6 separate regions of the Homo sapiens genome follow, and all the other regions are linked to region 2. The links are contacts of gene promoters, found by promoter capture Hi-C in blood cells and fetal thymus (Javierre and others, 2016). All regions are on one chromosome and are shown on one strand. Each heading gives the region's core, a stretch centred on a gene start or on the middle of the fragment in contact. The rest is flanking DNA. Distances are from core to core; before and after follow the strand shown.

Region 1 (4,171 bases), core at 603-3,102, 970 kb before region 2:
AATAGCTCTCTTTATTTCTCTTGTCTAACTGAAATGTTGTATCTTATGAACAATATCTCCTCACTCTCATCCTTAGCCCCTGGTAACTCTACTTCTATGAGTTCAAGTTTTTTAGATTCTGCGTATAAGTGAGATCATGTAGTATTTGTGTCTCTGGACCTGGCTTATTTCACTTATCTAAAGAGCTCCAGGTTAGGATCTCCAGGTTTATCCATATTGTCTGAAGTGACAGAATGTCCTTATTTTTTTGAGGTTGAATTATATTTCATTGTATATATATACCACATTTTCTTTATCCATTCATTTGTTGACGGGCACTTAGCTTAATTTATTGTGAATAATGCTCCAGTGAATATGGTAGCACACATATCTCTTCCATATATTGATTTCATTTCCTTTGGATGTACCCAGTGGTGGGTTTGCCATATCACATGGTAGCTTGATTTTTAATGTTTTTAGGAACCTCCATACTGTTTCTCGTAATGACCAAGCTAATTTACATGCTGAACAACACACCACACTATTATGAAATAATGGAGACAAACTAGATAACCGACAGTAGAAAAGTATTTTTAATCCATTGAGATCCAACCATATAAAGAAATATTACGCAAATATTAAAATACTTCAATGAAGAATATTTATTGAGACAACGATCATAATATAATGTTAAATATCAAAACCAAAACTATATATATAAATTTTATATATACATATATATACACACACACATTCAGTTTTGTTGGGATTTACTAATAAACTTTGAAATTAAGTTTTTTTGGCGTGTATATATATATTTTTGTGTATGTGTATATACATATATATATATATACACACACACACACAGAAAAACTTTATATATATATATATATATATATATGTATCTCACTGGTGCCTATAAGTTTTTTTGTGGAGAGAGATATATATATATATATCACTGGTGCCTATAAATTTTTTTGTGGTGATATATATATTTTGTTTGTGTGTGTGTGTGTATATATATATACATATACATATTTACAAAGTTTATTAGTTGCAACAGTTAAAATAGTATCTTTACAGTGAAGAAATCTGAAAGACAACACCTTAATCAAGCAATTATAGTTAATATCACCGGTAATGGGATAGAATTCCATTATGTGCCTCCTAACATGATGCACTGAGAAAGATGGAATATTTTGTGATATTCCTGCCAGAAATGCAAAGCTTGAGTCTAATTATGAGGAAATATTAGACTAACCTAAGTCGAAGGACATTTTACAAAATAAATGGTCTGTACTCTTCAAACGTGTCATGGCCAAAAAAGTAAGTCTGAGGAAGTTTCTACATTAAAGGAAACTAAGGAAGCATGACAATTAAATACAAAGTGTAATCCTGGATTGGATTCCAGGCCAGAAACATGAATACATACATATGTACATACCAACATACTCATATACACATACATGCTTATAATTTATTTTTGTTATAAATGGTATTATTGGGACAGTTGGCCATGTTTGAATAAGGCCTATGGATTAGATAATATTTCTGTGCCAGTGTTAATTTGATTTTGATGCCATGTTATGGTTATATAAAATAATGCCCTTGTGTTTAGGAAATTAACTGAAGTAGACTGAAGTATTTATGCATAATTGTTCATAATGTCTGCAATTTACAACTTATTCTCAAATAGTTTTTTAAAAATTGCCTATCTTTGTGATATAATAAGAAATGTATATTTGGTCTTCACCCCAGGTTCCTGGCACAAAACTTCTAACACTCTTGTATCTTCCTGAATAATAGGACTGCTAGGAGCATCATTTGTTGTAATAGTCTTTCTTAGTTCCTCCTTGGTTCCTGACAGAAGAGCTTCTAAGACTTTGGAACCTCTGGAGTGATAAGAGTATCTTTTTTTTTTTCTAGACAGAGTCTCGCTCTGTTGCCCATGCTGGAGTGCAATGGCGCAATGTCGGCTCACTGCAACCTCTGCCTCCCAGGGTCAAGCGATTCTGGTGCTTCAGCCTCCCAAGTAGCTGGTATTACAGGTGCCCACCACTACATCCAGCTACTTTTTTGTATTTTTAGTAGAGACAAGGTTTCGCCATGTTGGCCAGGCTGGTCTGGAACTCTTGACGTCAGGTAATCCTCCTGCCTCAGCCTCCCAAAGTGCTGGGATTACAGGTGTGAGCCACCATGCCTGGCCAAGAGTATCTTTTTGTATGTTGATGAGATGACTGGTGGCCAAAAGCCCCTAGATATCTCCACAATGAAGGCTGTTGCCAGAGGAACCAACCATGTGATTAGAGAATTGAGACTTTCAGCCCCATTCCCACCCACAACCTCTGGGGAGGAGAGGGAGGCTGGAGATTGAGTTCAATCACCAATGGCCAGTGACTTAATTAATCATGCCTGCATGATGGAGTCTGCAGAAAAGTCCTAAATGAAGTGGTTTGGAGAACTTCTGAGACAGTGAATATACAGAGGTGCTAGGAGGGTGGCCCGCCCAGAGAGGGCATGAAAGCTTCATGCTCCTTCCCCCATACCTTGCCCTCCATACCTCTTCATCTGGCTGTTCATTTGTATCCTTTATAATAAACCAATCAAAGTAAATGAAGTGTTTCCCTGGGTTCTGTAAGTCATTGTAGCAAATTATTGAACCTAAGAAGGGGGTCATGGAAACCCCTAGTTTATAACCAGCCAGTCAGAAGTACAGGTGGAAACCCGGGACTTGTGATTGGCATCTAAAGTGGGAGCGGTCTTGTGGGACTGAGCTCTTTAACTTGCAGGATGTTAAACTAACTCCAGGTGGATAGTGTCAGAGTTGAAATGACCTGTGAGTCACTACTCAGCTGGTATCCACAGAGAAGTGAAGAAGTGCCGAGTGTAGAAAATTCACACGTTTGGTGTCAGAGGTGTTGTGCCTATCCAGGAAAACAAGTTTTCCTTGTTAATCTCTATTTTTATCTACCAAGCTATTATCTATACAGAAGAAAGTAAGACAGATTAAATGATAAAACAAATGTGGTAAGATGTTGATAGTTCTGAATTTGGGTTAAAAGTATACAAAAAGACTTTATACTATTTTTGCACTTGTCTACAAGACTAAAATTGTTGTAAAATATCATGCTATAATATGTAGAACATAGGTTTGAGAGTGGCCAATGGAAAATATTACGATTCAGTGCTCACACATCAATATTATTTCATGGCAAATTATATTTACCTTCGCAGGATGAAGCACAGTAAATTCATAGAAAGGCATAATAGTTTTGTACCCCACCCGCATATACATATAGTAAAAAAGAGCTGCAAGTCGTAGGAACATGTTAACCGTGTTTATCTATAAGCTGCATATTTTCCGGTGTTATTCATTTTCTTCTTTAAACTTTTTCATCTTTCCAAGTTTTTATAATGAGAGCTTAATATTCTTATTATTGAATTCCTGGCTTTCTTCTTTTCTACAGTTTCAGAAAAGAAAGAAGCAAAGGGGGAAAAAGAAGAGAGAGAGAGAGAGATGAGCCCTAATAGAGTTCATGGCTGTCTGTGAGCCATTGAATGCACCTGAATGGGGAAGTTCTTGAGGTTGCATAATATCAGCTGATGCTTACAAACTGTTACTTCAAGGTCAATCATGACGTGGCTGTCTCCAAGGGAATACAGCTGTTCAATACTCCAGGCTTGCTAACTTGGGGACCATTGGATCTTGCTTGGTGACTAAACCCTAGTTCTGTTCATACCACCACAAAGACAGAACCTCACCTCCAAAGGCATGAAGTGGTAAGACCAACACACCAAGACAGAATGATGCCACTGCCACCTGGAGCACAATACAGTGAAGCATGTATGCAGAATTAATACTGGCACAATGCTGGACAAGTGACAGACAAATTAGTGCAAGCTTCTGTAATGATTATGCTATTTAATTAGTGGATACCTGACCAGTGTTAAAATCTGGAAGAGTACCAAATACCACAAAGTTTACAATTTCCTTTTCTGGGAACATTTTCTCTATTAAATGGCATCAATGACAAGCTAAAATACAGCCCTTTATCGATCAGCTATTTCACTTCTCTTTTCCTGAAAGGGTTACTCAAAGGCACATAAAGAGGTTTCTTCCTCCATGCCTTGTCTCCAACTCCTGTAGACAGATTTACACCCCACACCTGGTGCTGCTAAGCACATTACAGTG
Region 2 (4,646 bases), core at 2,055-4,554:
ACCATGAGGTAGGGAGGAGTGACTAATATATTAAGACTACCAAAAAAAACTGCTGATAATCAAAAAGAGAACATATAATTCCATTTATGCAAAAGTACATATGGCTGTTTACATATGGACAGAGAGATATGGAAGGATGCTCCCAAAATACTAATAGTATTATCTCTAATAGTAGGACTTTTAGGTAATTTTTACATAATTTGTTAACCCTTTTTTATAGTTTGAATTTTTTATGACCATGAATTATTTACATAACCAGAAAAAGAAAACATTAAAATATTTTCACTTTGGGAAAAAAAAAAAGGGCATTACTGGATCAAAGGATAAGCTCACTTTTAAGGCCTTTTATATCTGCCTAGCCAAATTGTCCTAATAAAAGGGTGTTCTACGCTTTTACACTGTTGGTGGGACTGTAAACTAGTTCAACCATTGTGGAAGACAGTGTGGCGATTCCTCAAGGATCTAAAACTAGAAATGCCATTTGACCCAGCCATCCCATTACTGAGCATATACCCAAAGGATTATAAATCATGCTGCTATAAAGACACATGCACAAGAATGTTTATTGAGGCACTATTCACAATAGCAAAGACTTGGAACTCAACCCAAATGTCCATCAATTATAGACTGGATTAAGCAAATGTGGCTCATATACACCATGGAATACTATGCAGCCATAAAAAAGGATGAGTTCATCCTTTTCATTTGTAGGGACATGGATGAAGCTGTTAACCATCATTCTGAGCAAACTATCACAAGGACAGAAAACCAAACACCGCATGTTCTCACTCATAGATGGGAATTGAACAATGAGAACACTTGGACACAGGGTGGGGAACATCACACACCGGGGCCTGTCATGGGGTTGGGGGGAGAGGGGAGGGATAGCATTAGGAGATATACCTAATGTAAATGACGAGTTAATGGGTGCAGCACACCAACATGGCACATGTATACATATGTAACAAACCTGCACATTGTGCACATGTACCCTAGAACTTAAAGTATAATAATTTAAAAAAAGTAAATTAAACTTAAAACTTTCAACTTTGGCTTAACTAGAGTTAACTTTATCAGCATATTAAATAAAAACTGTAATATACATGTTACATACAAAAAAAAAGGGTTTTCTAAATTCAGCTCCTCCCAACCAACAAACACCTCAAACATGCACACCCTTATTATCACCAAGCATTAAAATTGCTTTCACTTTTGCCAATTTAACAGGTAAAAAATTGTGTATCATTTTAATTTGAATTTCATTAATAGTGAAATTGTGTATTCATTTATTTGCTGGCTACTCACTCGTCACTTCTTTTAGAAATATCATGTTCAGGTGAGGTGTGGTAACTCACACCTGTAATCCCAGCACTTTGGGAGGCTGAGGTGGGACAACTGCCCGGGCCCAGGAGTTCAAGACCAGCTCGGGCAACACAGAGAGACCCTGTCTAAACCAAAAAAAAATCTTCTAAAAATAAAAAGAAATTTTAAAAAGAAATATATTCATAGCCTTTGACCTTTTTCAGTATTAGGGTATACATCTTTCCTTTTACGTCGGAAAGTACTTAGATTTTATATAAATTATATGCTACGGTTATTAAACCTGTCCTTTTATATATGTCGCAAATATTTTCCTTCTTTGTATTTCCTTTACTTTGTATCTTTTTCTTTTTTGAGACAGGGTCTGGCTCTGTCTCCCAGGTTGGAGTACAGTGGCACAGACACGGCTCACTGCGACCTCAATCTCCCAAGGCTCAAGCAATCCACCTTCCTCAGCCTCCTGAGTAGTTGGGACTACAGGCACATGCCACCATGCCCTACTAATTTTTAAATTTTTATTTAGTAGTGACGGGGTCTGGCTAAGTTGCCCAGGCTGTTCTTCAACTTTTGAGATCAAGAGATCCTCTTGCTTCTGCCTTCCAAAGTTTTGGGATTACAGGCATGAGCCACTGCATCTGGCCATGCTACTTTGTATCTTTTTAAACATGTAGATGTTTTCAAAGAATTTCTAGACCTCTCTGGCTTTGACATTTTTTGTCTCTTAATTGTATTATAAACACCTAGGGATGTGATTCCATAGTTTACGTCCTCCTACACAGGATTAAGGAGGCAGCTGCTTCTTGGGTTTTAGCATATACAAGTTTCTTCAAGGTCTTAAAGGAAAAAAAGTACTTGTTAGGAGGGCTACATGTCACTGGGCAACAGGAACTTTTCAGCTTCATTATAATCCTATAGCACCACCGCTGTATATGTGGTCCTATAAGATTATAATGGAGCTGAAAAGTGCTAGCGAGCTTCTTAACTGGGATAAAAGTTTGTTTGTAAACGTATGTAAATGTATTTACATGTGCTAGCCCAGGGTCAACCTAAAAGGTAGCGAAAGTGTTTAGCCCAGAAGTCTACATAGAAACTAGGGTTGTCTACCTCCATACCACCCTGAATGTCCCCCGATCTCGGAAGCTAAGCAGGGTCAGGCCTGGTTAGTACTTGGATGGGACAATAGGGCTAAGGTGAGTAGATTTAATGCTCCAGGATAACGACCTTTACCGACAGGTCATTGTGTGGCACGTGGCTGTATGTAGTTATTAAAATGTAAATACATATATTTACAAACAAACTTTTTTTCCCAGTTAAGAAGCTCGCTAGCACACAGCATTCTGTTGAAAGCCCCCTTTATTTCGCAGTCCTGAAGGGAGTGAGGGAAGGAAGTAAAAGGGCAGAGGAAATAATGAATGAATGCGAGACGCCGATTGTACAGGGACTTGTTTCCATACTGCTCTCTACCAGAAACGTTCTCAGTTTCCTTCCTTCTGCTGGACATGTTCCAAGGGCCAAAACCTCAAATAATGTGACTTTGTAGATTGGAGAGTGTGTGACCACAGAAAGGAAAGGGAGGCAGCACGTGCCAGCCGGCGACAGAATGTTAAGTCTGCAGCATACTCCACCGCAATGAAACAAATAATTTGTGTATTTCCTCCCCTTCCTTCGCCCAGAGCCACTGTGAGAATGGGCTACAGAAAGTTTCGAGGCAGTAAAGCCAGTTGTTCACCCAGAACATCTGACTGCCATAAAAATTATGGTGACGAGAAAGAACGTTTGCTCAAATGCCGGGGTCGGGTTGAGGGCTGGAGAAAGGTCCCACCCCGCAGCATCTACCTCCCGGGCTCCTCACCATGTGCATCGCCTCCTCCATCCACTTTTCGGTCTCCTCTGCCGACACCGAGCACGCGCCGCTTGCAGCTGGCTTGGGTGCCGCCTTCGCCTCCATACCCAGCCACCACTCAGCTACAGAGCCCGCGGCAGAGGAGGAGCGCGGGCAGCGGAACGCGGCGGGCCCGGGACCCCGTTTCCGGGGGTAGTCTAATGAAAAGGCACTCGGGAGCTATTTCTGAACGGACCTGGGCTTGTCGGACCAGTGAGCGGCGGCGGCTGCGCGGCGGCAGCGGCAGAAAGCGTAGCTGCTTTGCTGTAGTCCACGCCCCCTTGCCGCTCCGGTGACAGTCTCTGCGGAAAGTCACGTTTGTGATTTCGGGAGAGCACAGAACGGGACGACGGCGCTCTTGCTGGGTCATCTGGGCCAGGTGACGAAGAAACAGTTTCCTGGTGAAGCAGTCCCTCACCCCTAGTCAGCCCACACCCCTAGGGCCTAAAGATGCTGAGGTCTGTATGGAATTTTCTGAAACGCCACAAAAAGAAATGCATCTTCCTGGGCACGGTCCTTGGAGGTGGGTGACAACGTGCTTGAAAGGGGGCATTGGGAGAAGGGGGTGGGAGAGGTGACTTCTTCTAAAATAAGGACAGGCCGGGCGATCCTAGTCTGGGATATGTAGAGGGAGTTCGATCAACCATGGGATGAAAAGGGAGGTGGCCAACCTCCAGGGTTCTCCCATCTCTGCAGTTGAGAAATGCCTCTGTGCCCTTTGCCCTGTCACCGACTCTTAACTCTGTTTCTCACCTATCCTTTTTTCTCACGGACCTTTGGAGAACTCATCACAGTTTAAGTTTCTGTTTCAAGGCACCATTCTCTTACAGGAACTTTTTAAAAAAAATTCTGCTTTCCTGTGAGATTCTGCATTTCTCCTTGGCACTCTTGATACTTTGGCTCTCACCCTTCTCAGGAGTTTAATAATAATCTAGGGAAGTTACCTATAGGCTGCACTTCGGGTGGTGGTTAAAGTCGATTTGAATTTTTGAAAACAGCGCAGTTGTCCTAAAGGACTGAAAGATATGGATTAGATAAAGAAAAACAAATCAATATTTTAGCTCTGTTTCTGCCATTTTAGAATACAAACTATGGCAGTAAGAAAAATGCTTGAGGGATGTTGTGCAATCTTCCTCAGGATCTTCAAGGTTGGGATCATTGTAATCTAGCTGACATAACTGAGTTGCACAGGCCCAGAGGAGATTTAGAAACAGATAAGATAAAAATCTTGAGACGCTTTTCCCTCATACAATGCTCATGTGATAATATTCAGGGATTTGAAGGAGGGAATAAAAGTTTTGTGAATTATATGAAAAGGACATCTAGGAACTATAAAAGAGGAAATTTGTTAGAACTTGAGTTTTTGAGAAATAGTCTCATCACTTATTACATGCTATGTTTACAAAAGTACTTAAAATCAAGAACAGAGTTTCCCAAAGAATTT
Region 3 (4,250 bases), core at 906-3,405, 990 kb before region 2:
AGGCTGTGTGTGTGTACACATAGAAAGATTTATTTTAGGGAATTGTCTCATGTGATTGCATAGGCTTGGCAAATCCAAAATGTATGGAGTAGGCCAGCAGGCTGGAGACCCGGGGAGAGTTGCATTTCAATTCCAAAGGCAGTCTGCTGGCAGAATTGCTTATTGCTTGGGGAGGGCAGTCTTTTCTATTTAGGCCATTGGCGATTGGAAGAAGCCCACCCACATTATAGAGGGTAATCTGCTTTACTCAGAGGCCACAGATGTAAATGTTAATCTCATCCAAAAAGCTCCTTCACACAGACATCCAGAATAATGTTTGACTGAATATCTGGCCACTATGGCTCAGCCAAGTTGACATATAACATTCACTATCACAATTATATAACATTAATAGGCACTATGTGCAAGACACTTTTTGCGGGATGGAGTGACATTAACCACTTCATCTATCCCTTCCCATTCTTGGCCCTACATAAAGAGAGAATACTTTGGAAAGCAAATACTTTAGTACCTTCTGTGGTTTAAAAGGAGTAGTGCTGACTCATATCTTTAGAAACTGTCTCTAAAAAGGCTAGAAGTTTGGAGAGTATCTTGTAGCTAGCATAATGGAAACAGAAGGAGATCACATGGCTTTGTCATCAACTCAGCTCCCAGCTTCTCTGGGCTATTTTCTTTCTAGTACCTTTCCATTATTTTAGTTACAAGATACTCTCCAAACTTCTAGGAAAATTATTCCAAAATATCATTAATTTTAAATACATTAATAACATTGATGGTTCTTTCTGTCTCCTAGTGCAATTTCCTTACATCAATGGATGATAGTATGATGTGGAAACAGCAAAGGATTTTCTTTTAAGAAAAATGTCTGGACTGACAACTGTCACTTACTAGGAAGTATCTTAATCTTTCCAAACCTCAGTTTTCTCAACTGTAGAATGGGAATAAAGTTGGTAATGTCCATAGCTACCTCACTTGACTGTAAAGAACAACTGAGATAAATATGTGGCAGTATTTGAAAAATGATAAAGCATCGTGGCCTTGGTTGTTATTCTCACTTTCTATTAAGTTCAGTTATAGAACCTTGGGCCCCACTCAAGGGCCCAGTTTTCTTAGCATGGGTGTGGAAATTGTGACTACTAAAAAACAGGCAACTTTTATGTCTACAGGAGATTACTAACTTATTATATAGGAATTTGACCTTCATCTTGGTAGAGGGGATTTCATCCTGGTGGATCTGCAGCCCTACCTGGAATATGCTGAGCTTCATATTGTCAACTTCAGGCAAATGCTTTTCTCCTCCAGTACAGCCATTCTTCTCTGCATTCATTGGAACACTCAGAACATTATTAGATGTACCTTCTGTCTTATCTGGATGAACTAAAAACAGAAATGGGTAGTTTTATAGTTTTATAATATTTTATAATAATTGTATAATAATAGGCTTTGTTGCTTTTGACAAAAAGAACTATCTGTGATGCAAGCAACAATCTTGTGCCCTTAAAGCCCATGTCCTCAAATACTAAAGTAAACCTAAAATCTTAGCAGTGTTCTTTAGGTGTTGCAAAGTGTTAGTAGGAAAAATCCTAACTGTGCAATGTCTCCAAAGTTTGTGGAGTTTTTTCCTTTAAGGATATTGTTTCTAGCTTAGCTGAAGTTCTCCATCTCTATGGGGATTTCCTTTCACCCACTACTAGTCTTTAAGAACATTTCAATTTTACTGCTATCAACTGCAATTTCGTACTTTGATAAGATTCATTACTGTACCCCATCCTGATCTCTTTTCAAAATATTGATCAACTAGATTACTAAAATAATCAAAATAATAGTGGAAAAGCTTTCTGTTTATCCTTCACATATATTTCTATTAGTTGGTAAAATCACCCACATCCCCACTAAGTCCTGTACCAAGCATAAATACCACATAGTATAACAAGTACTAAGAATTTTTGAAACTTAATGTTACTGTTTTATCAACCTGAATGGAAAACTATTTTGCATTTTTTTCTTTTCTTTTTGTACTTCTGAATTTGTGAAGTCATATCTTCAACAATTCATTCAACCAACTTTTATTGAGAATACCATATTGTATGTGCCTCAAATCATCATACACAGAGCAACTTGATGAGTTTTCCTAAATCTAAGCTCTGGCTGTATCACCCCAAAGCCCCATCATTGCCTATTGAATTAAGTCAGATTCCTTTCCTAGAATTCAAGGGCCTCCATAATGCATCGATACCATGATCCAACTGAGCTGTCTTCCCACATATGTCCTGCCATTTTCTCTGTCTTGGAATGTTCTCTCTCTTGGTATCTTTTTTTTCCAGTGGTGCCCATTTGAAATGCCTCCTTTTCCATGAAGTCTGTCCTGTCACCAAATAAATGTCATTTCTCCATTTATAATAGATCCTTAGCCTGTTTTTATTCCCCCTGTACCATAGTCATCTTTGAGCTTTCCTAGTCTACTCTGTGAAAACTGTAAGCTTCTATAAAGCAGGAGCTCTGTCTCAACCATATCACTCATTCAGGCACATTTCAGAAGCATACAGTATTTCTTAGAGGATGACAGCAGGGAACCCAGAAATATTTTTTAAGTTCTTTTGAGTCCTTGTATTTTCAAGGTTAACACAATTCCATTTTAGTAAAAAGCCTCTGTAATCTCAATATATATGAGTAGATTGTTTTTTCTGGTAGGGATAGAGGGAAATAATGCAATGTCAATGTGGCACTAGGTAACACATTAATTATGAGTGAAGTGATTCTATGATACAAATCCACTGCATGAAAGCAACAGTTGGAGCTGTAAAGAGACAGGTCATTTCTAGGTTGGGGAATGGTCAGGATGGGTGTATTAGTCCATTCTTGTGCTGCTAATAAAGACAGACCTGAGAAATCATGGCAGAAGGGGAAGAAAACATGTCCTTCTTCACATGGCAGTAGGAGAGAGAAGAATGAGAGCCAAGTGAAGGTGGAAGCCCCTTATAAAACCATTAGGTTTCATGATAACTTACTCTCTATCACAAGAATAACATAGGGGAAACTACCCCTATGATTCAATTAACTGCCACTGGGTTCCTCCCACAATACATGGGGATTATGGGAACTACAGTTCAAGATGAGATTCGGGTACAGACACAGCCAAACCATATCATTCCACTTCTGGCCTCTCCCAAATCTCATGTCCTCATATTTCAAAACACAATTATGCCTTTCCAATAGTCCTCCAAAGTCTCAATTCATTCAAGCATTTACCCAGAAGGCCAAGTCCAAGGTCTCATCTGAGACAAAGCAAGTCCCTTCCACCTATGAGCCTGTAAGATCAAAAGCAAGTTAGTTATTTGTTGATACTATGGGGGTAGAGGAATTGGGTAAACACACCCAATGGGAGAAATTGGCCAAAACAAAGGGCCACAGGCCCTATGTGAGGCCAAAATCCAATAGGAGAGTCATTAAACCTTAAAGTTCCAAAATTATCTCCTTTGACTCCATATCTCACATCCAGGGCACACTGATGCAAGAGTTCGGCTCCCACAGCTTTGGAAAGCTCTGCCCCCTGTGGCTTTGCAGGGTATAGCCCTCCTCCTGGCTGCTTTCATGGGCTGGCATTGAGTGTCTACAGCTTTTCTGGGCAAGCGGTGTAAGCTGTCAGTGGATCTACCATACCAGGATCTGGAGGACAGTGGCCCTCTTCTCACAGCTCCACCAGACAGTGCCCCAAAAGGGACACTGTGTGGGGGCTCTGACCCCACATTTCCATTCTGCACTGCCCTAGCAGAGGCTCTCCATGAGGGCTCAGCCCCTGCAGCAAACTCCTGCCTGGACATCCAGGTGTTTCCATACATCCTCTGAAATATAGGTGGAGATTCCCAAACCTCAATTCTTGACTTCTGTGCACCCACAAGCCCAACACAACATCTAAGCCACCAGGGCTTGGGGCTTGAACCCTCTGAAGCAATGGCCTGAGCTGTACATTAGCCCATTTTAGCCACAGCTGGAGCTGAAGCAGCTGGGAAGCAGGGCACCATGTCCCTGAGTGGCATAGAGCAGGGGTACCCCCAGGCCTGGGCCACAAAACCATTTTTTCCTCCTAAGGCTCTAGGCCTGTGATGGGAGGGGCTGGTGTGAAGGTGTGTGACATGCCATGGAGACATTTTCCCCATTGTCTTGGCTATTAACATTTGACTCCTTGTTACCTATGCAAATTTCTGCAGCCAGCTTGAATTTCTTCCCAGAAAATGGGCTTTTCTTTTCTT
Region 4 (4,362 bases), core at 12-2,511, 780 kb before region 2:
GAGATAAGTTGAAGTGTACAATTTTCAGATCATGCTATTATAGAAGAAGAAGTATGCCCTCCATTCTGCTGGCAGAAGTGTGAGCATACCACAAGATGGAAGCCACGTGTGAAGGCAACAGAGCAAGAAGACAGGATGAGCCTGGGTCCCTTGAGACTTCCCAGGGCAGAGCCACCCACATTTAAACAAGCATGGCAGGTTAGCTTTACTTTCTCTTATGGATTATCCTTTTCTACTTGGCACCTTTGCTCTTTATGGTCTATTATAACCTATATCAGAGACAAGGATGTCTAAAAAGAGGATCAATTCCAGGTCTCTAAGAACTTATGGTTTTCAAAGATCTTAAAGTGAAAAAAATGACAAGTTGATTACTCCACATTCTACTGTAAATAAATTACAGAGGCTGGCTATTTCCCCCCTTCCTTGCTTGTCTTTGGGTTTGAGAAAAACTGATTTATCATCACTTACCTCTTTTTCTTGCTAATCGGTACAATTTTTAAATATTGAGACACCTTGGCTAAATCATAAATGTTTTGTTAACATGCATTCATTGTAAAAACTTGCCTTGACTCATCTATGATTGTTCCAAAGATTTATATGACCAATTCATGTCTGTTTCTCCACAGAATGATCTTCTCTCGCTTCTGAATATCTGTCAGCACACATCTGTGCCTGTGTGTACAAAAACTTCACCTCATGAGAGCCCCAGATTTGACAGAATCAAGTTTGCCTCATTTTTCAAACAGTGTTAACTCAGTTTAAAAATACTTTTCTCATTATGTTATTGCAAGGGTCTTTTATTCCATCTCATGCTTTCGTCTATTTTGGATCTAACATTTATTTAATTAGAAATCTATTATTGGGGAGGGGGCACAAATAAAATTTAGCTACCACTAACCACCCCCTGTCAAATGGTGGTACATTAAAGAAAAGAAGGAAGGTATTACTTTCTTCAGATAACATAAGACAAACATTTAAAATTCGGTCCACTTGGAAAATGCTTTCTCCACATCTTCTTTTATGTGGAGGGTGATTTCCTTTTTAGTGGGTTACACAATGCAAATGAGGCACAGTTCATTTATATCCAAGTCCAGGGAAATGAATTTATAGGCACTCCAGAGGAAAAGTTCCATGGAGATATTCAAGCTTTCTTACTTTCAGACTATCGGAAGCTCTGCAATATATGTCTTTCCCTAGATATCTTAAGGGCACCCAATAAAGCCAGTTTTGCCTGAGAAAAGCCATTTACACCCCTGCTTTCCATGGAAGACTAATTGGAATCGCTGTTACCATTTTAAATCTCTTCAACGGGTTAGGGTGTTGTTATCAGTATAACTCAATCAACCAACATATACTTAATGATTTCCAGTTAGAAGAAAGCTTCTTCCTTCTACAAAACATACAAGGAAAAACACTATTTCTGCCCTGAAGTAGTTGCCAGTCTAATTGCAAAAACTTGTGAGGGTCTCTGGCTTTTCAAGACCCATTAAAAAGACAAAGTCATGTCCTGCAGTGCCCCATAAATGGGTCTACACTCTCCTTTGGCAGTTCCAGTCCATCTTGTGTGTCATCGTATTGCCTAAGTTTGAATAAGCCTTTTAATCTTCAGTAAATTAAATTCTTAGCAGGGGCTTATAAATCCTGTTGTTCTCAATGCCTAACCCAGTGCCTGATCCACAGAATACATTCATGAATAAATAAAGGAGTGGATGAGTTGGAAGCAGAAAGTAAAACAGTGGTTACCAGAGATTGAGTAGGGGAGGCAGGAGGGGAGGATGGAGAAAATTTGGTCAACAAGTACATAGTTAAAACTAGATAGAAGAAATAAGTTCTGATGTTCCATTGCACAGTGGCGTGACCACAGTTAACAGTAAGGTATTGTATATTACCAAATAGCTAGAAGAGAGGCGTTTAAATGTCCTCACCACAAAGAAATGATAAGTGCATGAGGTGATGGTTATACCCGATTTGATCATTATACAATATATATGTATCAAACATCAAATTGTATCCCATAATATGTATAATTATAACATGTCAATTTTAAAAAAAAGCAAATGAGTAAATTTTTAATACAGTCAATGTAGGTTACAAAACTATTTAATTCATCTTCAGGTCTACACCCAGGACATTCTGGCACAATAATTTCTATTTATGCCCAAGAGGCACTAAAGATCCCTTGATTCCATTTATCTATTCAAATTTTCAACAAATATTTATTGAGAGTTCAGTATCTGTGCAATATTTTCTTAGGTGCTGGGAATACGATGGGAGTAAGCCAAGAATTTGCCCTAAGGAAGCTTATATTTTAGGGAGAAAATGACGAGGAAAGAATCTCTCTATAGCAAAAAAGCAGCCAGCCAGGGAAGGAATACTACACCACATCAGCTTGGGCTTACAGGTAAATAAATGGGACTTGTCTATTAAGATTTATTAAATTCAACAACAAAGTGGCTTTGATCTCACAAGTGAATAAACCAAAACGAATTACTCCTTGAAAAGTAGAAATGAAAAATTATTACATTTCTCCTTCCTAATTGGTACATCCATAAGGGAAACATTTAAAAAAAAAAAAAAAACTAAGATAAAAATCAAAAATGTGCCCCAGGAAGAACTATCTGAACTATATTTGCATGAAATTGTATTCTGTGCTTAAAGCCAATGTTTCCCTAATTTATGTGTTATCCCTCCTTAATTCCTCCTGTCTCCTTTAACAGTCTTTTACAAATGCATTGACTTCTTCACTAAAATTCTCATGAGGGCAAAAACACAGACAAGATGCCCAATTGTAAAAACTTACTTACGTCTTATATAATCTACTGAATAAAATACTGTTAATGAAAAACATCAAAGTGATGCATTTAACCCATGTGGAAGTTAACACCACTTAGCTTCCCTCTTCCTCCCCCGTAATAACAGAAAAATGAATGACTGAGGTAGGCATTAGTGATAGAGGAGGTGGACATATCTTTCTTTCTAAAATTTAAATTTCTAATTTTCTCTTTTTGAATAATAATCAGCCAGGTGCCTTTGATCACCAAGGGTAGGTAAAGACAGAAAGTTGAAATACATTCTTCATGAAGTAGCAAAATCATTTTTAAAGTAGGAACTTTGAACTTAAAATATTACTGTTTATTGTTCATCATACACTTTATGTCTCTTGCTAAATAATAAATTAGACTACATAGAGCTTCCTCCATATATTTATGTCTGCTGAAAATATTTGGCTAAATTCATTTTGGAAATACTTCACTTCCATGAAATATTGACATGGCAAAGACCATGTCAGAAACTTTGCCATTTTTCTGTGGAAAATAATACACGTGTCAGCCATACATTATTCCTTCCCACACTTTAATGCTTAATGATTAAACATTTGAAAAGTACTATTTCTAAATATTCTTCCAGACTACCTGTCCAACACAGAGTTAGCTATTCCAGTGCAAAGTCCTGGCTCCCAGACAACTAAGGGACCTTCGGAAAGGGGTAGAAAATGGCGGCTTCTCACCGGAGCCCTAAAACTGAGTAAACTCTAGGAAGCAGAAAAAGTGTAGAAGGGGAAGGAGAAGGAAAGGGAAGGAGTCTGGCATCTGTGATGGAGCTGGCCAGGTGTCTACAAACTCATTTCTCCTTCTGAGCTCAGGAATAAGCCACATTTGCCACCCATGCCTGGCAGTTAGCAGTGGCCATGAGACTGAGTTCTGGGCTGTGCGGAACGTGGGCACAAGTGGTGCTCACCACTTCAGGCCTCACCCGTAAAACTCCCTGCACAAACCTGCACATGCTCTGCCTCTCCCAGGGCCACCCAGCAGCAGATCAAGGGCAGCTCTCTCAGGAGGCGCTGGGGCATGGTGGAGCCGTTGGGCACAAATGTGATATCTAACTTGATTTCTTGCATTTCTCTCAGACTTCTGAATAACTGAGGGCAACAGAGCCCCACATTGGATGAGTGATGTCAGAAATACAACTCTGTGTGAAGCCGCTGAGGTGTGGGGTGATTTCTGACAGCAGTAGTCTTCTCTGGCTAATTCAGCGAATAAAGAAATCGAGCGATAAGGACAAGCTCCACTTCTTCATCTAGTCCTGTGAAGCAGTTGATCTTTTTCAATGTCTCAGTTATGACATCTCTCATGTGAAAAGCATCAACGCCAGGAGCTTCTCCATGTCCTCTGAGCAAGGGATGCATCCCATCCATTTACAGACTATAAAAACTCAGGGGGAGGGTTTCATTGCTCAATGAGGGGCTTGAATTTTCTTTGATCCCCTACTGATGGCGAATGATCTCTTTATTCCTTACACGGGGAGGGAGGATGAAACCTGGGGCAATTACATTAGATTCCGTTGACATGTGAAGCAATTTTG
Region 5 (4,239 bases), core at 979-3,478, 560 kb before region 2:
AGTTAAACAAATCACCGTTTAAAATTTAAAAATGCAAAAATACATTTCAGAGAGTATGTGCGTTTATCTTTCTGAAATATCAAACAATGTAATCACCTGGTCACTAAATTTAGGACCAGATTATTTAATTATCTGGAAAGAACTGGGGGGAAGGGGAGGATATAGCAAAGGGCGATGCAGCAAAAAAAAAAAAAAATTGCTTTTTCAAATTAATCTTTCTAGAAACAATATTTAAATTCATTCCCCTATGTCACTAGTAAAATACCATGACAATAAATCATTTTACATGTTTTAACTATATTCAAAAAATGGGAAAATACATCCCTAGTTCACTATCCTACGCCCAGTCAAGGACAGATAACTCACATTTAGACTATAAAGTTAGTTTTCTCCTTTAGTCTCAGTATTATGATGGGATTCTGTTTTGTTTTGTTTTGTTGTATTGTTCTTTTTGAGACGCTCACTGTGTTGCCCAGGCTGCAGTGCAATGGTGTGACCACAACTCACTGGGACCACAGGTGCATGCCATGTAAAGATGGGGTCTCACCACATTGCCAGGGCTGATTTCAAACTCCTGGACTCAAGCAATCCTCCCACCTTGGCCTCTGAAAATGCTGGGTTTATCAATATCAGCCACAGTGTCCAGCCACAGATTCTGCTTTATTTTTAATTAAAAAAAATTACATCCTTACATCTCCTCATTGTTTAATAGTGACATTTTTTCATTTAGTAAATAAGATTGCTTCCAAAATATTTCATGGGCTTATGCTCATTGAAGTCATTATCTTCATTGTTTTCCCACCCTGCAATGCACCTGCAAGAGTGCATGCACACACATACATATTCAACCTTTCCCTCATGCCTGATCTCCTTTGATGAGGTCAAACATTCAAAGAACCCAAGGTATATTCAAGAGAGTCATCCTTAACTCCTCCTTAAACCTCAGCTCCCATGTCTAATCACCAAGCCATGACAATTTTACCAAGTTACCTCTCTTCCTTGTCTGTCTTCTCTCTAATTCCACTGTCGTGACCTTAGTTTTACCCTTTAACCCAGTGCTTCTTTCAGGGAAATAAAATAACTATCCTCAGTTCTCCCTCTTCTCCCAAACTATGCTCTACATGACCAAAAATGAGTTGTAGAAAACATAACTCTGACTATACTGCTCATTCCATCAAAACCCTTCAATGGCTCCTAGTTGTATCATACAAAGTCTTGTATCAGAGATTACACTATCATAATTTTTCATTTATGTGTTCGAACTTTCTATTTGATTTTGAGCTCCTTAAGGTCAGAGACTATGTTATACTTATTACTGCATCTCCAGCTCTCAGCAGAGTACCTGGCACTTTTGTTGAACTAAAGTGGACTGAATGACAGGACACTGCATTGACATTTTAAACTCCTGATGTGGCCATGCATGGTGGCTCACATCTGTAATTCCAGCATTTTGAGAGACTGGCAGGAGGATCTCTTGAGTCCAGGAGATGGAGACCAGCCTGGGCAACAAAGCAAGACCCTGTCTCTACAAAATATTAGCTGGGTGTGGTGGCATGCACCTGTAGCCCTAGCTACTTGGGAAGCAGAGGCGGTAAGATCACTTAAGGAATTTGAGATTATAGTGAGCTGTGATGATGCCACTGCACCCCAGCCGGAGCAACAGAGCAAGTCCCTGTCTCAAAATAAACAAACAAAGAAACAAATAAACAAAACTCCTGATGTGGTCTAACTAGACTAGATAAAAAGAAGGTATGGCAGAGCAATTCTCTCTGAAATCAAAGAAAACTGAATTCAACAATAGTCTTATCAAATCTTAGGCAATTACATAACCTCTCTGAACCTTAGGTTCCCAAGATACAAAATGGTGTTATGGCAAATGGAATAACATACACTGTGTGCCTCCTACAATAGCTGGCACCTATTGAGAAGGTGCTCAATAAATGGCAGCTATTATTATGTTTAGTGATTTCTGCTGTGCAATTATACATACATTTATCAGACATCAAAATGACCTATTTTGGTGCTGTCCACTAGACAGGTATCTATATATCTATACTGTCTAACACTGTAGCCGCTGGCCATAAATGGCTCTTGACACTTGAAATGTGGCTAGTATAACTGAGAAACTGATTTTTCAATTTTAATTAATTTAAATTTAGATAACCTCATGAGTCTGGGTGGCTACAGCACTGGACAGCACAGACCAAATTAGCCCTGACATCAATGGAGCACCCTTTAAGTGTCTATCATTTCCCCTTTCCCCAAAATCAGTCTTGTTTACAAGGATTCAAGTGCCAGTGTTAATTAGGGTCTATCTATGTCTTCATTTTTGTTAATTCAACATTGCCTGCTCTGTTAAAGAAATCAGACCTAAATGCCTATATTTTTCACTCCCTTTGCAAATTAGCTCTAACACTAGTAGAAGGGGCTCTACATCAGTAAAACAATCCATTCTATTTAAGAAATTTATCCATGAAAGTGTGAGAAGATCAGATAACAGAGTTCCATAGAGAATCTTCCTCAAATAAGCTCCTCCAAAACTTTGTATCTTTACAAAGTTAACGCAATTCAGCTTTTATTGCGTGTACTTCTTCACATATTCGTGCACTTGCTCTGCATTCCTTCTAACACTCTAAATTCATTGAAGGTAGAAACGATCTTGCTTCATTTCCCTGTACACATTTTGAAAGAATTACTGCCAAAGAAATGAATGAAGAATACAGTCCACAGAATGGAATCCCCAGCACAACACAGAGAGATGGATCAGAGTGGCAAGTGCACAGGATCTGGACCAAAAGAGCTTGCTTCAAATCTCAGCTCTGCCATTAACATTCTATGAGGTTTGGAAAAATCACCTGACCTCCTATCTGTCAAATAATGATAATACTAACTGCAACTCCTAAATATCCTATTAATATAATAATCTAATGAGATAAATCAGACATATAAATATTAGTGCAAATAGTGTAACTGAGAAAGTAATACAAAAAACACTTAAATCTCTATCTTGTATATTACTACAGAAAATAATGTCCCATAAATATGAAAAACACCAGGTATCTGTCTTGACAATCTGTATAAATGTCTAGAGGGAAAGATCAATTTTAAAATAATTATAAGGATGATTACACTTCCATTTGTAAACTGTAATATTAGTCATTACCGGTGGTGTAGTTTTTATCTGACATCAAGGTCATAGAATGCTGAAATATGCTTTTGTATATATGGCCTGTTCTCCTTAATTATACCTGTGCTGTAAAGATAGGGTCTGCAGTTTTCAAAAGTATTTGGTAAAAATAGTTCACTTTTGTTGTTTGCTTTTCAGTTCACAAAGCACTTTCACTTACATGCTTAAAGTTCTCTTCGGGACAACTCCAAGATAGGTTGAGGATTTTAGTATTTCCACTTTGCAGAAAAGTAAACTAATAACAACATCAGTAAGTAAAACCATCAGATTAATAACTCGAAGTCTAGAACTCCTGTTCTTGTACTCAAGGAATTTCCTACTGTTTCTCATTTCCAAAGGAGAACCCAGATTGTGTTCATGTATTCCCACATCAAGAATTTTAGCAAAATACTAGGTATTACACTGTACATCTATCTCATCATACATATGTATGTTTATATATAATTTAATATTAATATTAATATATAATTTAATAATTTTAAAAAGTGTTCTCACCCACACTCACTTAGCAGATCCTTACAGATAGGGTATGCCAGGTAGGACAATCACCATTTATAGATAAGGAAACTGGGTTTTGGAAAGATCTCAACTCTTGACTGTGTCTTTGCAGGGTTATGGAGATGAATGATCTGTGCACCTGGGCTATGGATCGAGATCTACTATCACCCAGTTGAGTAACTTCAAATAAGTCACCCAACCTCCCTGGGCCTTGCCCTCCTGTGTAAAATGAGAGACTTTGAGTCACTCACAGATACCACCTAGCTTTTAAAACTCTTATTCTGCAATTCAGCTAATTCGGCAACATCGCTGAGACACGGCCCCCGATGGTCTAAGTCCTTGCTGGTTCTTTGTCCTCTCTCAAACACTGTAATCCCTCTTAACAATATCTGTTTCTCCACAATCGAAAAACTGGACTTCATTAAGGAGTTCATTCTGTTTGTTTGTTTATCTTTATAGAGCCTTAGGCCCTGTTTATGTCCCATTTATTCTTTGATCTTTTAGCTATGTCCAGCCAGTAAAAACATTCCCTAGAAGAAAGGCTAGCTGACACA
Region 6 (4,134 bases), core at 50-2,549, 880 kb before region 2:
GGAGGAGAGGCAAAAGTCAGCTAAACTTCTAGACTGAATTTAAGGAGGACCACCTGCTTCAGTATCACTTGGATTACTGGTTAAAAATGCAAAGTTCTGCACCCAATATCTAACTTTCTAAATCTCTAGCAGTCATCTAGACATGTGCATTTTAAACACCCTCTTCGGGGCAGTGATGCACATTGAAGTTTGAGAGCCTCTGCCCCATAAATAAAATAAACCTATTTTATTTATATGGCCTTTTTCTCAGCCGGATACATCTCCTCACCTTGGAGGCCAAAAACAAGACTTTGAACACTTGTTAGCCTAATACTGCTCCATGACCACAGACTGTGTCCTAGCTGTTCAGAAATCCTATTCAAAAGCCACAAGGGGGACCAAGCAAGAGGGTATGGATGATACATTAACTCAAATCCATCTCTACTATTGAAACGACCATGCCGGAAATATCCCTTCCTGATCATAAGGCACTGGTATCATGAGAAATATCACATCAGTGGATATGCAGGTCAGCATTGCACTATGTGTATAGGGGAGTCTAGAGAGCACCTCTTTCCATTCTTGTAGATTCCAACCAAATTATTCCTCCCTGTAAATTTCTCTGTTCCCAGCATCATTTCAATCTCTTCCCACATCATTATTTTATCCTTAGATACCTGATTTAGATTCATGTATCTATCACTAAATACAGTAGAGGTGCTCTTGAAGAAGTTTATGAAAAGATGGGTTTTTGTGCTTTGTTTTTTGGGAGGTTTTTACTTTCTTTGTATAAATCAAATCAAATTGTTGAATATGTCTTTGCTCATGATTCTATGAAATTTTGAGTTCATAAAGAAAATAAAATTTATCACCAGCAGATAACCTGCATAGCACACAGGACTTTGTTGAAGGGTATTTATTCAGTACAGCCCAGTGAGAGGACTCTTGGTCAGTGGAACTATAAATGCGTTATCCACAGGCAAGGCTATTCCTCTTTCAGTTGAAGGACTCTTTATGAGATCATCTGAATTCCTTTTTAAATTAAGCTCCATGCTCACCAAAGAAACATTCTGATTATGATCTTGCTCCTTACATAACTTAGCAACAGGGAGGAAATGCTGTGAGTTTGCCTCCTGCCTTCTGGAGAAACCTTTTATCTTCATTTCTAGCCAACCACATTATAGTCTTCCTTTGGTTCAGAAAATCTTCCATGGTTTCTTTAATAAAAGTAACATGTAACACTAAATAAAACTTACTTTTTCTGAGCTATGGCTTTAGTTCTCTTTTCTGAGAGTCTGCTTCTGACTCATCAATGGGTATGAATTAGAGTGGCAGAGGGAAAGAGCTAAAGACTGATCAAACCTCCAACCTTACATTTCCCTGAAATTCACAGAAGATGCATAATGAGCTATCACCTTACATATTTTTCACAACTGCTTTTACTCAGAAGTACCAAAATGCAAAGAACTCCTTCTTTCTTACAGGCTGCAGAGCCTCAGAGACCAAATAAACTGTGAGCATTTGAATGACAACTGAAACCTCTTGTGTGCATTTTTATTTATCTAACTCAAGATTTGCTAGAGTTCAAGCAACTATTTAAAGTTCAAAAACCTATGATTAATGTTTAAGTTGCTGATGAGATATTTTTCAGATCCTGATCATTGCTGAGCAATGGCATAACATTAAATGCTGGAGCAGCAAGATTTTACTTTCCAAAGGACTGAGCTTACAGAACATGAGAGGGAGGCAGGAAGAGGGAAAGGGTGGAGGAGTCTGAGGCAGCTGAATGATAAGCAAAGAACTCTTTTGTTCTTTTCACACTACGGAATCAAAGCCATTTCAGTTCACTTCCCACACCTGAGATGTTTGTCACTAAGCCATTTCCTTCTCTCTGAAGTGGGTTTAGACAGTCATTTTGCTGTTGTGAAATTCACATCCCTCTTTTCCCAAACCACATCCATGCCTTTCTCAGTTCACCCTCCCCAGAAACACCTACTCTCAGGCAGGATTGGCAGTTTGCAAGTTTAGAGTCTCATAGAAGAGATAGATGACAAATAAAGCTAGAAAAAAAAACTCTTTTCAAGGAAATTGTAAGACCTCTTGAAATACAAAACCTATTTTTCCAGGTTTCTGATTTTAGCCAGTATGAAGATCAATGGAAGCAAACTGCATTACAATAAATGTTGTCAGTCCCACTGATATTCCTTGAAACTGTATGTTCATGGAAGCCCACAGTCTGGCCTTGTTTCAGTGGGATGCTTACCTGAAGTTCACCTCACTACATTCCAGTTACTGAAGCACATGACAAGTTGTGACTTGTGCATAGTTTTCCCCTGAGTTTTGAAAAGTAGAAAGCTGTTATTTAGCTTTGTGGTTTGTTGGGGTTTAAATTTCTGTTGCTATTGCAGCTGTCTTAGCAGTGCAAATCCCAAAGCAAAGAATGATGTGAAAAATTTTGCTCATTTTGAAAGTGTTAGAGAATTTTTTTTAACTTTGACTCCTTGAATTCTCCAGGAAATGATGTCAATCAGTTTAAACAAACAGCACTTTCCACAGAGCTCCCAGGCAAAGTCACATGGTGTTCTGTGTGCTTGGAGCTCACCAGGTTGGTATTATGAGAGGGGACAAGTCAATTGGTAAGTTATAGCAAGGAGGAAAGTTTGAAAAACTTGGAGGATGGATGAGTTCCTGAGTGATTACCTAATTCATTCTCTTGACCACAAACAGTTCTATTGATGAACCTTTCCCAAGAGATGGCTTTCTATTGTGTTTTCAAATATTTTTAGAGGGGAAGCTCTGCTCTGCAGGTTAGATAAAATGGGTAAACTGTCAACTCTAAGGTGGGCTGTAAGTAGGACTAAAGACATCTGCTTCTTGTCTGTGGCAAAATCCTAGATTTGGATAGATCAAATTTGGATAGATCACATGCAAGAATATATAAACAAACAAACCTTTAGAGAAACAACACTGAACTAGAAGGGAATGTAAACCTATTTCCAAAGATTCTGAGAAAAATCTTGTATTTGAAAAATAACTTTAAATCAGAAAGAAAAAATTTATGATGACATTTTCTTAATGTCATTAAAGGAAGCAGGACTACATGGCAACTATGAAAAAAGAGCATAAAATTACAGGGAGAAAATTCATTAAGATGAAGACAGAGATAAAGAAAGAAGCATTCTTAAATTTAAAATGTAAAAAGTTCTGTAATCATACAGAATTGAAATGAATATGTGAATTGGAGGCATTAATGAATAGAATTGACAATGCATAAAATGAATTGGTCCTGTGGAATAGTAACTTAAATATCTCCCAGAGCGTCAAGTAAAACATAAAAGAGTTCAAATTGCCAAGAGTGAAGATGATTGATGATCAACATGGGTAGCCAAGGAAAGAAAATCATAAAATAATAGATGTTCCAGAAAAAAGATATGTGACTGATGAGAATAAAACAGAAACTAAAGATTCAATAAAACGAGATAAATATTAAGAAAGATCAAAAAGGAGTAGCATAAAACAAAATAGCAGAAGAAAAAGCAGGTAAATTAGTTAAGACAATAATGAAAGTAAACAGGAAAAAATTTGTTTCCAAAGGGCAAATACCCAGAGTAAACATAAAACTACCTGGGCTATCAGACTCCTAATATATAAATCAAAAGGACAAAGAAACATCAAATCTAAAAGAATAAAGAGTATTAGACAAATGGTAAAGATAAAAGAAACTATGCTTATGGCATTTCTAGCCAGAGAAAGTAAAGTTATAATTACAATGAGAAACAGAATATTTTCATAAATTGATGAAAATTATGATTATCAGAGACATTTGAACCAGAGCAACTCCATCTTGAATAGGGGCTAGATAAAATAAGGCTGAGACCTACTGGGCTGAATTCCCAGAAGGCTAAGGCATTCTTAGTCATAGGATGAGATAGGAGGTCAGCATGAGATACAGGTAATAAAGACCTTGCTGATAAAACAGGTTGCAGTAAAGAAGCTAGATAAAACTCTGCCAAACCAAGACGGCAATGAGAGTGACTTCTGTTCGTCCTCACTGCTACACTCCCACCAGCACCATGACAGCTTACAAATACCATGGCAACATCAGGAAGTTACCCTATACGGTTTAAAAAGGGGAGACATGAACAATTCACTCCT

What was found. The method cuts DNA at HindIII sites, captures the fragments that hold promoters and counts their contacts. A CHiCAGO score of 5 or more calls a contact.
Region 1: a fragment that was not itself captured here is called in contact with the fragment with the promoter of ADAT2 in region 2 in 3 of 17 cell types (naive CD4 T cells, endothelial precursors and activated CD4 T cells); the score reaches 6.1 in naive CD4 T cells.
Region 3: a contact is called between a fragment that was not itself captured here and the fragment with the promoter of ADAT2 in region 2, in 1 of 17 cell types (activated CD4 T cells). The highest score is 5.2, in activated CD4 T cells.
Region 4: a fragment that was not itself captured here is called in contact with the fragment with the promoter of ADAT2 in region 2 in 3 of 17 cell types (total B cells, naive B cells and M0 macrophages); the score reaches 14.5 in total B cells.
Region 5: a fragment that was not itself captured here is called in contact with the fragment with the promoter of ADAT2 in region 2 in 1 of 17 cell types (megakaryocytes); the score reaches 5.8 in megakaryocytes.
Region 6: a contact is called between a fragment that was not itself captured here and the fragment with the promoter of ADAT2 in region 2, in 1 of 17 cell types (naive CD4 T cells). The highest score is 5.0, in naive CD4 T cells.

What each region holds. Positions count from the first base shown.
Region 1 is chr6:142,478,847-142,483,017 of GRCh38, forward strand. No RefSeq gene overlaps it. Among named protein-coding and RNA genes, the nearest start is that of ADGRG6, 180 kb to the left of the region's middle. The HindIII fragment of the contact is 1,297 bases long and covers 1,205-2,501 here.
Region 2 is chr6:143,447,391-143,452,036 of GRCh38, forward strand. It overlaps ADAT2 (adenosine deaminase tRNA specific 2), which reads right to left and starts at 3,305. Exons shown (of 6, transcript NM_182503.3): 1 at 3,173-3,305. The coding sequence starts at 3,268. PEX3 (peroxisomal biogenesis factor 3) reads left to right here and starts at 3,415. Exons shown (of 12, transcript NM_003630.3): 1 at 3,415-3,725. The coding sequence starts at 3,653. It also overlaps the pseudogene RNA5SP221. RefSeq lists enhancers at 2,311-3,293, 3,096-3,255 and silencers at 2,336-2,415, 2,476-2,555. The HindIII fragment of the contact is 8,229 bases long and covers 1-4,646 here.
Region 3 is chr6:142,458,905-142,463,154 of GRCh38, forward strand. No RefSeq gene overlaps it. Among named protein-coding and RNA genes, the nearest start is that of ADGRG6, 160 kb to the left of the region's middle. The HindIII fragment of the contact is 646 bases long and covers 1,833-2,478 here.
Region 4 is chr6:142,671,941-142,676,302 of GRCh38, forward strand. No RefSeq gene overlaps it. Among named protein-coding and RNA genes, the nearest start is that of HIVEP2, 270 kb to the right of the region's middle. RefSeq lists enhancers at 1-1,037, 1-221. The HindIII fragment of the contact is 234 bases long and covers 1,145-1,378 here.
Region 5 is chr6:142,887,779-142,892,017 of GRCh38, forward strand. The region is part of intron 1 of HIVEP2 (HIVEP zinc finger 2); the gene reads right to left. Among named protein-coding and RNA genes, the nearest start is that of HIVEP2, 55 kb to the right of the region's middle. The HindIII fragment of the contact is 7,933 bases long and covers 1-4,239 here.
Region 6 is chr6:142,568,034-142,572,167 of GRCh38, forward strand. The region is part of intron 1 of LOC153910 (a long non-coding RNA gene); the gene reads right to left. Among named protein-coding and RNA genes, the nearest start is that of ADGRG6, 270 kb to the left of the region's middle. The HindIII fragment of the contact is 9,498 bases long and covers 1-4,134 here.